3 separate regions of the Homo sapiens genome follow, and regions 1 and 2 are each linked to region 3. The links are contacts of gene promoters, found by promoter capture Hi-C in human tissues and cell types (Jung and others, 2019). All regions are on one chromosome and are shown on one strand. The core of a region is centred on a gene start or on the middle of the fragment in contact, and the rest is flanking DNA. Distances in the headings are between cores, read along the strand shown. Region 1 overlaps MUC16 (mucin 16, cell surface associated). Region 2 has its middle 8.0 kb from the start of OR7E24. Region 3 holds the start of OR1M1 (olfactory receptor family 1 subfamily M member 1).

The links. Contacts are between HindIII fragments. The study calls those that stand out against the background at their distance.
Region 1: a fragment that was not itself captured here is called in contact with the fragment with the promoter of OR1M1 in region 3 in 1 of the 25 tissues and cell types used here (thymus).
Region 2: a fragment that was not itself captured here is called in contact with the fragment with the promoter of OR1M1 in region 3 in 6 of the 25 tissues and cell types used here (dorsolateral prefrontal cortex, heart left ventricle, lymphoblastoid cells and 3 more).

The regions. Positions count from the first base shown.
Region 1 is chr19:8,846,755-8,850,722 of GRCh38, forward strand. It overlaps MUC16 (mucin 16, cell surface associated), which reads right to left. Exons shown (of 94, transcript NM_001414686.1): 94 at 2,090-2,276. The coding sequence ends at 2,178. Among named protein-coding and RNA genes, the nearest start is that of MBD3L1, 16 kb to the left of the region's middle. The HindIII fragment of the contact is 5,188 bases long and covers 1-3,968 here.
Region 2 is chr19:9,240,828-9,245,022 of GRCh38, forward strand. It overlaps a transcript of OR7E24 not described here. Among named protein-coding and RNA genes, the nearest start is that of OR7E24, 8.0 kb to the right of the region's middle. The HindIII fragment of the contact is 9,125 bases long and covers 1-4,195 here.
Region 3 is chr19:9,085,808-9,090,318 of GRCh38, forward strand. It overlaps OR1M1 (olfactory receptor family 1 subfamily M member 1), which reads left to right and starts at 1,254. Exons shown (of 2, transcript NM_001004456.2): 1 at 1,254-1,350. The HindIII fragment of the contact is 13,481 bases long and covers 1-4,511 here.

The sequences.
Region 1 (3,968 bases), core at 852-3,351, 240 kb before region 3:
TTGAACTCCTGACTTCAGGTGATCCACCTGTCTTGGTCTCCCAAAGTGCTGGGATTACAGGTGTGAGCCACCGTGCCCAGCCTCCATGATGGCAATTTCTGTATCAGTGAAACAGGAGGATTCCCTGAGCTCCCTTGCAGGACATGTGACAGGGGTGTGGCTCATCTGTTTGGCTGCTGGGTGCACTCAAACCCCTTATGGGACGGGGAGCACACAGACAGGCAGGTGCAGGAGCCGGGGCCAGTGTCCCTGGGCTCTGGCCCCATGGCAGCATCCACAGGTGGGAGACTGCAACTCCCAAAGCCCAAGTGGCTGTGTGTTACAGTGTGCTCCTTAGCCTTGCTGTCTGTGGATGGCTCAAGTGTTAACCAGCTCAGTGCCCTCTTGGTACCCAAGTCCTTGTCCAGCATCCAGGAAGAATCAGGTCACACATAGACTTGAAGGATGAATGCCAGGGTTTTGTTGAATGGGGGAGGTGGTTCTCAGTGGGATGGATGGGGAGCTAGAAGGGGGATGGAGTGGGAAGATGATCTTCCCCTGGAGTTTGGCTGTCCAGTGGCTAGTCTCCTCTCTGACTGTCCCCAGTTGAACTCCTTTCGGCATTCAGATGCTCCTTCTCTTCTCTCTGCTGTGTCGTTCTGCCATTCTTCTGCTTGTGGAGCCTGGGGTTTGAGGTTTATATGGGTATAGGATAGGGGAGCATGGTGGGCCAAAAGGTGACTTTGGGGCATGAAAACAGGATTGTCTGTTCCCATTTAGGGCCACAGGTCTCCAGGCTTGAGGGTGGGGCCTTTGCTGGGGAACCTCCCTCTTCTACCCAGTATTTCCCTGTCTCCTGTCCATATCATCAGTAATGTAGTTTGGATATGTGTCCCCACCAAATCTGATGTTGAATTGTAATCCCCAGTGTTGGAGGTGGAGCCTGGTAGGCGGTGCTTGGGTCATAGGGGCAGATCCTTCATGGTTTGATGCTGCCTTTGCAACAGGGAGTCTGTACTTGTGAGATCTGGTTAAGTGTGTGGCACCTTTGCTCCCCCCAACTCTCCCTTGCTCCTGCTCTGGCCATGTGACATGCTGGCCCTCTCTTGTGACATGCTGGCCCTCCCTTGGCCTTCACCATGATTGGAAGCTTCCTGAGACCTCTCCAGAAGCTGATCAGATGCTGACATCATGCTTCCTGTACAGCCTGCAGAACTGTGAGCCAATTAAACCTCTTTTCTTTAAAAATTACCCAGTCTCAGGTATTTCTTTTTTCTTTGTTTTTTTTTTTTTTTTTTTTTTTTTTTTTTTTGAGACAGGATCTCACTCTGTCATTCAGGGTGGAGTGCAGTGGTACAATCACAGTTCACTGCAGCCTCAACCTCCCAGGCTCAGGTGATACTCCCACCTCTGCCTCCTGGGTAGCTGGGACTACAGGCACGCACCACCATGCCTGGCTATTTTTAAAAATCTTTGTAGAGACAGCATTTTGCCATGTTTCCCAGGCTGGTCTCGAGCTCTTGGACTCAAGCAACCTGCCTGCCTAGGCCTCCCATAGTGCTAGGATTACAGGCGTGAGCCACCGAGCCTGGCCAGGTATTTTTTTTTTTTCTCTTGTTCTTTTTTTGAGACAGAGTCTCGCTCTGTCACTCAGGCTGGAGTGCAGTGGCGTGATCTTGGCTCACTGCAACCTCTGCTTCCTGGGTTCAAGTGATTCTCCTGTCTCAGCCTCCCAAGTAGCTGGCATTACAGGCGTGGACCACCATGCCTGGCTAATTATTGTATTTTTAGTAGAGACAGGGTTTCACCAAGTTGGCCAGGCTCCGGTCTTGAACTCCTGACCTCAAGTGATCCACCCGCCTGGGCCTCCCAAAGTGCTGGGATTATAGGTGTGAGCCACTGCGCCCGGCCAGGTATTTCTTTATCACAGTGCAAGAACAGCCTAATACAATCATTTTCACCAATTCTGGTGTTCCCAAGGGATGACATGGTGCGAAACCACAACACACAACTGAGAGTTGCCTTTGGGACTTCACGAAGGTGGAAGACTGTTCTCTTAGTCCAACATGAACCAGTCAGGGGTCACGTCAAGGAAGGCTCAGAGACTGTGTCCGACCAATATGGTTTATTTCTGCCCCAGCCAAGCTTCTTTGGACCCTGGCTGGGGGAAAGGCACCCCAGGCACCGGCAAGTTCCAGTCATTGCAGATCCTCCAGGTCTAGGTGTGACTGGTAGTAGCCTGGGCACTGTTGCTGGACGTTGTATTCTCCTTCCTTCTTCCGCCGGCGGGTGGTCACCTATGAGGGTGAGGAGGAGGCGTGAGAATGGACTGGTCAGCCGTCCAGGGAGAGGAGACCACAGGGGTGAGAATATGGCCAAAGCCAGAGGCCTTATGCTTCCTCTGTCTCCCTTCATTGTTTCATTTAATTTCTCCCTCAGTTCTTTTCCTCTTTTCACCACTTTCTTTTCTTCTGTCTCCTTGTTTCACTCTCGGTTTAAAAAAATTTTTCCCCCTCCGATATCCCCTTCATTTCTCTCTCCTTTTGCCTCTGAATTTCTTTATCAATATATCACATATCTACCAATGATCTATTTATCTATCATCTAGCTATCAATATTTATCAACCTGTCAATCAATTATCTACCAATCAATAACCATCAATTATCTCTCACCTCTCAATCATCTCCTATTTATAATCCATCAATCATCTATCAATCACCTGTCATCCATCAATCATGTATTTATCATCTACTTATCAATATCTATCAACTATCTGTTACCTATCAATTTATTATCTACCAATTATCTATCAAAATAATCTATTTATCATCTACCTATCAGCTATCCACCAATCATCTGTCAACTATCAATCATCTATCGCCTGTCTTCTGTCTAAATACCATTTCTCTCTCATCTCATTCTCAGTCTCTTTCTCTCTGGCTTTTGGTCCTGATCTCAGCCCCCTCTCTCCCTCCCTTCCTCCTCTACATCTGTCCAGCTTAACTGAGGCATAACTGACATAAAATAAACTGCACACATTTAAAGTGAATGTTTTGATAAGTTCTGATCATAACTTATTGAATCGTCACCACAATCAACATAAGGAACATCCATCCATCATCCCCAAAACTTTCGTCCTGGCCAGGCATGGTGGCTCACTCCTGTAATCCCAGCACTTTGGGAGGCCAAGGCGGGTGGATCACCTGAGGTCAGGAGTTCGAGACCAGCCTGGCCAACATGGTAAAACCCCGTCTCTACTAAAAATACAAAAATTAGCTGAGTGTGGTGGTGCGCATGTGTAATCCCAGCTACTTGGGAGGCTGGGGCAGGAAAAACGCTTGAACCCGAGAGGCAGAGGTTGCAATGAGCTGAGATCGTGCCATTGCACTCCAGCTTGGGCGATAGACTAAGACTCTGTCTCAAGAAAAAACAAAAAAAAAACAACAAAAAAACTTTCTTCCTGCTCTTTTACAATTCCTTTTTCCCTGCCACTGCAAACACATTTTCATTCCCAGGCAACCGCTGATCTGATTCCTGTCCTTACAGATTAGTTTGTATTTTCTAGAATTTGTCTATTAAGGGAATCATATGGCATGTACTCTTTTCTTCATCTGGATTCTTTCACTAGGCATAACTATTTTGCAATTTATACATGTTGCTGTATAATTTATTAATGTATTAATAATTCCTTTTTGTTGCTGAATAATATTCCATTGTCAGGATATATTTGTTAATGGACATTAGGGTTGTTTTCAGAGTTTGGCTATTACAAACAAAGCTGTTATGAACATTTACTTGTGTACAAGTCTTCATATAGACATATGTTTTTATTTCTCTTAGATAAATTACTAGTAGTGGGATGGTAGGGTCTTACGGTAGGTGTGTGTAATTTTCAAAGAAATGGCCAAGCTATTTTCCACTTTCACTTTATGAGAGTTCCAGTTCTGTCACATTTTCACCAACACTTGTTATAGTCAATCTTTTCAAT
Region 2 (4,195 bases), core at 173-2,672, 160 kb after region 3:
TTTATTTTGAGACACAGTCTCTCTCTGTCACCCAGGCTGGAGTGCAGAGGTGTGATCTCGGCTCTCTGCAACCTCTGCCTCCCGGGTTCAAGTGATTCTCCTGCCTCAGCCTCCCAGGTAGCTGGGATTACAGGTGCCCGCCACCACGCCTGGCTAATTTTTGTATTTTTGATGGAGATGGGGTTTCACATGTTAGTCAGGCCGGTCTTGAACTCCTGACCTCAAGTGATCCACCCGCCTCGGCCACCCAAATGCTGGGATTACAGGCATGAGCCATTGCGCCAGGCCTGTTGATCTGTTTTTTATTTGATTTGATTTTTGTACATGGCAGAAAGTAGGGTTCAATCTACTTTCCTTTGCATCGAGTTTGTTCTTGGAAGGGTTTAGTTTGTTGTGCTGTGAAACACCTTATTAATAACATCCACTTGGCAGCAGAATGTGTTAGCCTAGGGTTCAATCTGTCTAAGTGGTGGTTGTCAGAGAGATCATTGGGTTTATAAAAAGGTCACAAAGGCAAGATTATGTTTGACAGAGCCCTGCTCATGAACATTCAGTTCCTCAGCAGACCAGCCTCTTGTCCATGACAGATCAAGGTCTCAGAACTAAGTGGATGTTGTAGGTCCATTAGGCAAATGTGAATTTAAATATCCCGGCTCGACCAGGCTTGGTGGCTCATGCTTGTAATCCCAGCACTTTGGGGGCTGAGGTGGGTGGATCACTTGAGGTCACGAGTTCAAGACCAGCCTGGCCAATGTGGTGAAACCCCATCTCTGCTAAAAATGCAAAATTAGCTGGGTGTGGTGGTGGGTGCCTGTAATCTCAGCTACTTGGGAGACTGAGGCAGGAGAATTGCTTGAATCTGGGAGGTAGAGGTTGCAGTGAGCTGAGATTGCGCCATTGCATTCCAGCCTGGGCGACAGAGTGAGACTTTGTCTCAAAAACAACAACTACAAAACTAAAAGAAAACAAGAAATAAATATCCTGGCTCTTTTTCTCCTGAAAATCACATGCTTCATTTTTACTCTTCCCAAAACACTTGTGATTTGGCTTTTGCTACATGTTTTTACTTTAGGTTCTCTCAGTAACTCCCTTGGTAATTTCCTTCTAACTTTTCCGTTTTATATACAGTCTTTAAAGTTCCATCTTTGGTCCATTTTCTTAGAGCCACTCTTGAGAGTTCTCACGTGTTGTTTGAAACACTTATCATATCGAGTGCTGATATGATGACATGCTTTCCTCAAAAATTACCCATTTGCATGTTAGCACCCTTCACCTAAACTTGGTTGTGTTCTTGTTTCCTCTGGAAGAAATTGGATGAAAATCATACAATAGTCAAGGCAACGTGTTTCCCTTTTAGGATTGTGCTTGTTGCTTTACATGTATGGCTTTATTTAATCCTGAAAACATTTCTTTCTTTTTGTTTTTGTTTTGTTTTGTTTTGAGACACAGTTTCACTCTGTCACCCAGGCTGGAGTGCCATGGCGCTATCTCAGCCCACGGCAACCACCTCCCGGGTTCAAGCAATTCTTGTGTCTCAGCCTCCCAAGTAGCTGGAATTATAAGTGTGCACCACCACACCTGGCTAATTTTTTTTGTATTTTTAGTAGAGATGGGGTTTTGCCATGTTGGCCAGGCTGATCTCAAACTCCTGACCTCAAGTGATCCACCTGCCTCGGCCTCCCAAAGTGCTGGGATTATAGGCATGAGCCACCACAGTTGGCCCTGAAAACATTTCTTTGACATGTCTTTTCTCATTCACCTTGTTCCACAAAGGAAGAAGCAGATAGAGGTGAACTATAACCTGGCAACTTGACGTTGAGACCACACTCCAACTTTGCTATCCTTTATTTCATAAGAACAGTGATGTGATTTTTCACATCAAATTAGGAATGTAGATTTGTAAGCTTGTTTGTTCTGATGATTCATAGTAATGAACTGCCTAGAATAACTGAGACGTTGCTTCCTTCTTTGTGATTATTCCTTTTCTTCCCTCCCTCCCTCCTTTTTTACTTTCTTCCTTTCCTCTTCTTTCTTCCCTCATTCCCTCCTCTTTCTTCCCTCATTCCCTCCTCTTTCTTCTCTCATTCCCTCCTTCCTTCTTGTCTTTCTTTCTTTCCTTCTTTATTTGACCTTTATTTCCCATAATTGCAGTTTTATGATCTAACCCCAGATTGTAGAACATGTAATAATTATACGATAGAAAAGATTTGTTCTCTCATATAGTTTAATTTTCTTCTGAGACTTTCTGGAGATGTCTTCAGGAATGGAAGCCACAGAATGTGGACTGTGTTTGGGATGCAGTTCACCCTTTTGATGAGAACTGGTAGAACTGGGTCTGCAGTGAAGGATGGGGTAGTAGATGGTGTCAGGGTTCATCCCACATCCCTAAGACCCTCCCGCCATCTCCACACACACCATCCTGTCTGCCAATGGTCAGCATCAGCTGAGGGATCCACTTTCCCCAATGCATGGTGGCAGAAAGGTAATGAATGCTTACAATTTTATGTTGCTCTGGCATTTTTTTTTTTTTTTTTGAGCCAGTGTCTCACAGTATTGTGCAGGCTGGAGTACAGTGGCTCACTGAAATCTTGAACTCCTGGGCTCAAGTGATCCTCCTCAGTCTCCCAAGTAGCTGGGACTACAGGCATGCATCATCACACCCAGTTAGGGGGTCTCTCTATGTGACTCAGGCTTGTCTTGAAATCCTGGCCTCAAACCAGGATTGGCCACCTTGGCTTCCTGAAGCACTGGGATTGTAGGTGTGAACCACTGCACCTGGCAGGCATCTATTTTGAATACAGGCTTAGCTTTCTGATGCTAGAGGCAGGGTTCCATTGCCTTTGACACAGTTTCCAATTCCACACCACCCTCAAATGGCTCAAGCTGGTGCAATTGTTGCTCCTTGCATCATCCTTTGAAAGTGCAAGTTGTAAAAGTTTATGGATTCACCTCAGAGGGTTTATCTGAGAAGTTGCCTCAAGCAGTTAGAAGATACAGCTTCCTGATGCAACTTCAGCTGCAGAGACCAGGGAAGGAGGGGAGGCCTTAGAGGCCTGAGACTTCTGCTGGCATCCTTCTCACCAGGCTGCCTCCTCCCGGGAGAGTCCCTCCTTCAGCCCCAGTCCCTGTGCAGGAGCCTGGTTTCTGGAAAAGGCCCCACAGCCTGGTGGACACAGACCCAATTCCAGTATCAGACCCATCAGTGACCACTGTGTTGGGATTCAACAGCCTCTCCAGACTGTGATTCTCACTGGCAAAATAAAAAATCTGTCTGTCTTTATTTGATCAGGAGTACTAAGGCTCCAATGAGACAGTGTATTTGAAAAACCTTGGGAATCCACTCTCCAAAGCCTAGCAGGTTTTGTTACTATTATCCAACTCAATGTACAATTCTAAGGTAAATTGAAAAAATGTATAAATCCATTAAAAAGAAAAGTTGAAGGTCTCACATTTCCTGGTTTCCAAATAAACTACAAAGATCCAGGAATTAAAACAGTGTGGTACTATAATACATAAAGACACATATACAGAAAAATGGAAGAGTAAAGAGAGCCCAGAAAGAAACTCTCACTTATATGGTCACATGATTTTCCACATGGGTGCCAAGAACATTCATTGGGAAAAAGACAGCCTTTTCAACAAACGGTGTAGGAAAAACTTGATTTCAAAATGCAGAAGAATGAAGGTGGGTTCTTACCTTACACCATATGCAAAAGTTAACACAAAATGGATCAAAGGCCTAAACCTAAATTCCAAACCTATAAAATTCTTAAAGAAAACATTGATCAATACCTTCATGACATTGGATTTGGTAATGATTTGATCAATACCTTCATGACACTGGATTTCTTAGTGATTTCTTGAATATGTCACCAAAAGCACAGACAACAATATATAGATAACTTGGACTACATCAAAATTAAAAAACCTTTGTAACTCAAAGGATATACTATCATCAGAGTCAAAAGTTAACCCAGGGAATAGGAAAATATATCTGTAAATCATATATATATGCTTAGAGGCTAACAACCAAACAATATTAAGAACTCCTACAACTCAGCAACCAAACAAATGCCCATTAAAAATGGGCAGAAGGCCAGGTGTGGTGGCTTACACCTATAATCCCAGCACTCTGGGAGGCCAAGGCGGGCAGATCACCTGAGGTCAGGAGTTCAAGACCAGCCTGGCCAACATG
Region 3 (4,511 bases), core at 4-2,503:
ACAGAGGCTTGACTTGGTAGGTGTGGAAGCTGAGTGATTGGGCACACAGGATTTCATTATATGAAGCTGAGGCATACCAAAAAAAAAAATGCCAGTTTTGTTGATCAAAAATGGTAGAATATTGACAATTGCATATGGCTCAACCTAGTATTTTGCTCTTTACATAGCTAAAGGCTTTGAAAAACTGAGCCTTCATGTATCCATCAGTTTCATGAGTGTTTACTGAGTAGACACAACCCAATAATCTGGGCATGACCTTATAAAACCAAATTCCTGAAAATTCCCAGTAATGCCACCATGGTCCCAATACTCAGTGAGAATCTGGCTGCAGACTTAGTCAGCCAACCACTCTCTCCATGTACATCCATTAGGGTAGGCTCTAGTTTCTCCTTTTGCAGAACTGAATGAAAGCCATGATCCCTTTATAGAGAGTTGTTCTGTTGAGGTTGAGTGATGAAAGCAGGCAGCCCTGGGTCTTGGTGACAGATCACTGGGTGGACGTGGGAAAATGTTTGGAGTGTTTCTTAGTTCTTTTCTTTTTTTTTTTTTTTTTTTTTTTGAGATGGAGTTTCGCTCTTGTTGCCCAGGCTGGAGTACAATGGTGCAATCTCGGCTCACCACAACCTCTGCCTCCTGGGTTCAAGCGATTCTTCTGCCTCAGCCTCCTGAGTAGCTGGGACTACAGGTGTGCACCACCATGCCAACTAATTTTTGTATTTTTAGTAGAGACAGTGTTTCACCATGTTGGCCAGGATTGTCTCAATCTCTTGACCTCATGATCCACCCGCCTCAGCCTCCCAAAGTGCTGGGATTACAGGCGTGAGCCATCACACCCGGCCATTTCTTAATTCTTTAAGTGATGAGGAACATTGGCTTCCAATAAGAATGGAACCTTCTGATATAAGAAGCCCTGGGCATTGGAAAGACTGAGTTTAGAAGACAGGGAGAGTTTGTTCCTGGAAGAGAGGGTGCAGAGAAAGTTAGGAATCATGCAACTTACCCCTAAGTTGCCTCATGAAGACATAAAATGCTTCTTACTGCCACGTCCCAGCCCCCATAGGAAACAGAACTATTCAGGGACTAGAGATGAAATTGGACAATTTGTGTAACAAGGAGCTTGGGGAATTGACTTCTTATTGGCCCAGAAATTGTAAATATTCCCTCGGTTCCTACAACTTATCCCCCACCCTAGCTTTTCTTCTTTGGACCAGGAGGACAACTTCCCAGTATTTCTATGTAGCATCTGCTGGCCCAAACATCTAACTTCATCATCTAGTACCTGCTGGGAGGACACTGAGCCAGTTTAACTCATGCCTGGGTGATGGTGTCAAGAAGAGGAAAGATAGCCCAGTGAGTGAGCTGAGAGAGAGAGAGAGAGAGAGAGACTGAACGAATGTTGGTAAAATTAATGAAGCCAAGCTCAATGATCTCAGATACACTGGAAGATTCTTTTTTATTATTTATTGATTTACTGATTTATTTATTTTAGAGACAGAACCTTGCTCTGTTATTCAGGCTGGAGTGCAGTGGCACAATCACAGCTCACTGCAGCTTCTACCTCCTGGGCTTAAGCAATCCTCCTGCCTCAGCCTCTAGAGTAGCTGGAACTACAGGCATGTGCCACCACACCCAGCTGATTTTTTGAACATTTTTCCCCCACCGAGATGGAGTTTTGCTCTTGTTGCCCAGGCTGGAGTGCAATGGCACGATCTTGGCTCACTGCAACCTCTGACTCCCAGGTTCGAGCAATTCTCCTACCTCAGCCTCCCGAGTAGCTGGGATTACAGGCATACACCACCATGCCTTGTGAATTTTGTATTTTTAGTAGAGACAAGGTTTCACCATGTTGGTCAGGCTGATCTCGAACACCTGACCTCAGGTGATCACCCGCCTCAGCCTCCGAAAGTACTGGAATTCACTGTGCTCGGCCGACACTGGAAGATTCTGTCTGGTCAATCAGCACCCACTTGTCAGCCCAGAATCCAATGGCTCTTCTTACCAAACTAGCTCAGCCTGGTTTAGTTGTGATGCTACCAGTCCTTTACCTAAAAACCATGATTATTTGTAGCACTGTTTTTCTTCGTAACTAGACTTTTTTTTTGAAATGGAGTCTTACTCTGTCACCCAGGCTGCAGTGCAGTGGCATGATCTTGGCTCACTGCAACCTCCATCTCTCAGGTTCAAGAGATTCTCCTGCCTCAGCCTCCCAAGTAGCTGGAATTACAGATGCCCGCCACCACACCCAGCTAATTTTTGTATTTTTAGTGGAGCTGGGGTTTCACCATAATGGCCACGCTGGTCTCCAACTCTTGACCTCAGGTGATCCACCCGCCTCAGCCTCCCAAAGTTCTGGTATTACAAGCATGAGCCACTGCGCCCAGCCTGGACTTTCTTTTCCAAGCCCACTTGAGTGCCTGAAGGAACAGATGGCTTCCTCCTCAGTACTTCTGTAGGCAGAAGTTTGTGTTATTCCCCATGTTGGGTCTTGGAAGCCCTTGGAGATTCCCAAGTATTCCAGGCTGAGAGATCTTAGACACAGAGTGCAGAGGTCCAGATAGGATAGGACTGGTGCTTCCTTGGAGAGAGGCTCATCAAGAAGCTTAAGGGATGAATCTTCGGGTTCCTGATACTTAAATTTTTCCCAAGAGCTGTGGAAGAATGAGGAGTGACAGAGTAATTCAGTGAAAGCTTAGGTGTCAGGGCAGGAGGATGTCTGAGATCAGTTCCTTGATTCCATTAGTAGTTTAATCACAGAGCATTCACTGGCTTCCTTGAGATGGAAAAATACTCTGACTCGGCCAGGCACGGTGGCTCACACCTGTAATCCCAGCACTTTGGAAGGCCGAGGCGGGCGGATCACCTGTGGTCAGGAGTTCAAGACCAGCCTGGCCAGCATGGTGAAACCCCATCTCTAGTAAACATACAAAAAAATTAGCCAGGTGTGGTGGTGGGTGCCTGTAATCCCAGCTACTCGGGAGGCTGAGGCCAGAGAACCATTTATATCCGGGAGGCAGAGGTTGCAGTGAGCTGAGATTGCACCATTGCACTCCTGCCTGAGCAACAAGAGCGAAACTCTGTCTCAAAAAAAAAAAAAATACTCTGACTCCTTTTAAAATGTTTTAATTGTATATATTTATGAGGTACATAGTAATGTTTCCATATATGTAATGTATAGTGATCAGATCTGGGTAATTAGCACATCTATTATCACAAACATTTATCATTTCTCTGTGTTGGGAACACTCAATATCCTCCTTCTAGCTGTTTAGCTATATAGCATATTATTGTTAACTGTATTCATCCTACAGGGATATAGAACACTAGAACTTATTCTTCCAATTTGCCTGTAGTTCTGTATGCTGTAACAAATCTCTTCCTATCTGCCCCCTCCCTCTACCCTTCCCAGACTCTAGTATCCTCTGTTCTTTTTACTTCTATGAAATCATTTTTTTTCTTTTAGCTTTCACATGTGAGTGAGAACATGCAGTGTTTAACTTTCTGTTCCTGGCTTATTTCATTTATAATATGCTCCAATTCTTTCCATGTTGCTGTAAATGACAAGATCTCCTTCATTTTTATGGCTGAATAGTTTTCCATTGTGTATTTCTACCACATTTTTTTTTTTTTTTTTTTGAGACAGAGTTTCGCTCTTGTCACCCCGGCTGGAGTGCAATGGCACAATCTCAGCTCACTGCAACCTCCGCCTCCTGGGTTCAAGCGATTCTCCTGCCTCAGCCTCCCAAGTAGCCAGGATTACAGGGGCCCACCACTACGCCCGGATAATTTTTTGTATTTTTAGTAGAGACGGGGTTTCACCATGTCGGCCAGGCTGGTCTCGAACTCCTGACCTCAGGCAATCCGCCTGTCTCAGCCTCCCAAAGTGCTGGGATTACAGGTGTGAGCCACTGTGCCCTGCCTAAAGCCAACACATTTTCCAAAAATCCCTGGCTGCCTCAACAGTTTTCGGAGTGCTCTTACAATCCTCAGGGGTGCTGTGTGTGGGGTGTGATTCTCTATTAATCCAAGCTCCTCATAATCTGATAAATGCTGCCTGGAGTTCATCTCCCTCACTAAACTGTGAATTCATGAATCCATGCGTGCTTCATGAATTACAGAGATTAAGAGTACATGCTCTAGATTTAGAATGCTTGGGCTAATCCAGCCACCTGCTCTCAGTTAAACCCCATTTGATTGTATTAATCTTCTGTGCTTCCATTTCTTCCTGCATGAAATAGCACTAACATTATTCTGTTGTCGTGAGTAGCAAATTAGCAGAGACCTTCGATCAGTGCCTGGCAATACAGGATAACCATCACTGATTCATGCGTATATGGAACAATTATGTTTATGTCTTCTGTATCCCAGACAAGATGCTGGTCACAAAAATGAACAAAGACAAACAATTCCTGATTTCAAATGTCTTGAGGACAGGGTCTGTGTATTTTCATATATTTGTCCCCACAACTCAGGCCAGATCCTGTCACTATATATTGCAATTACCAATAATTTTT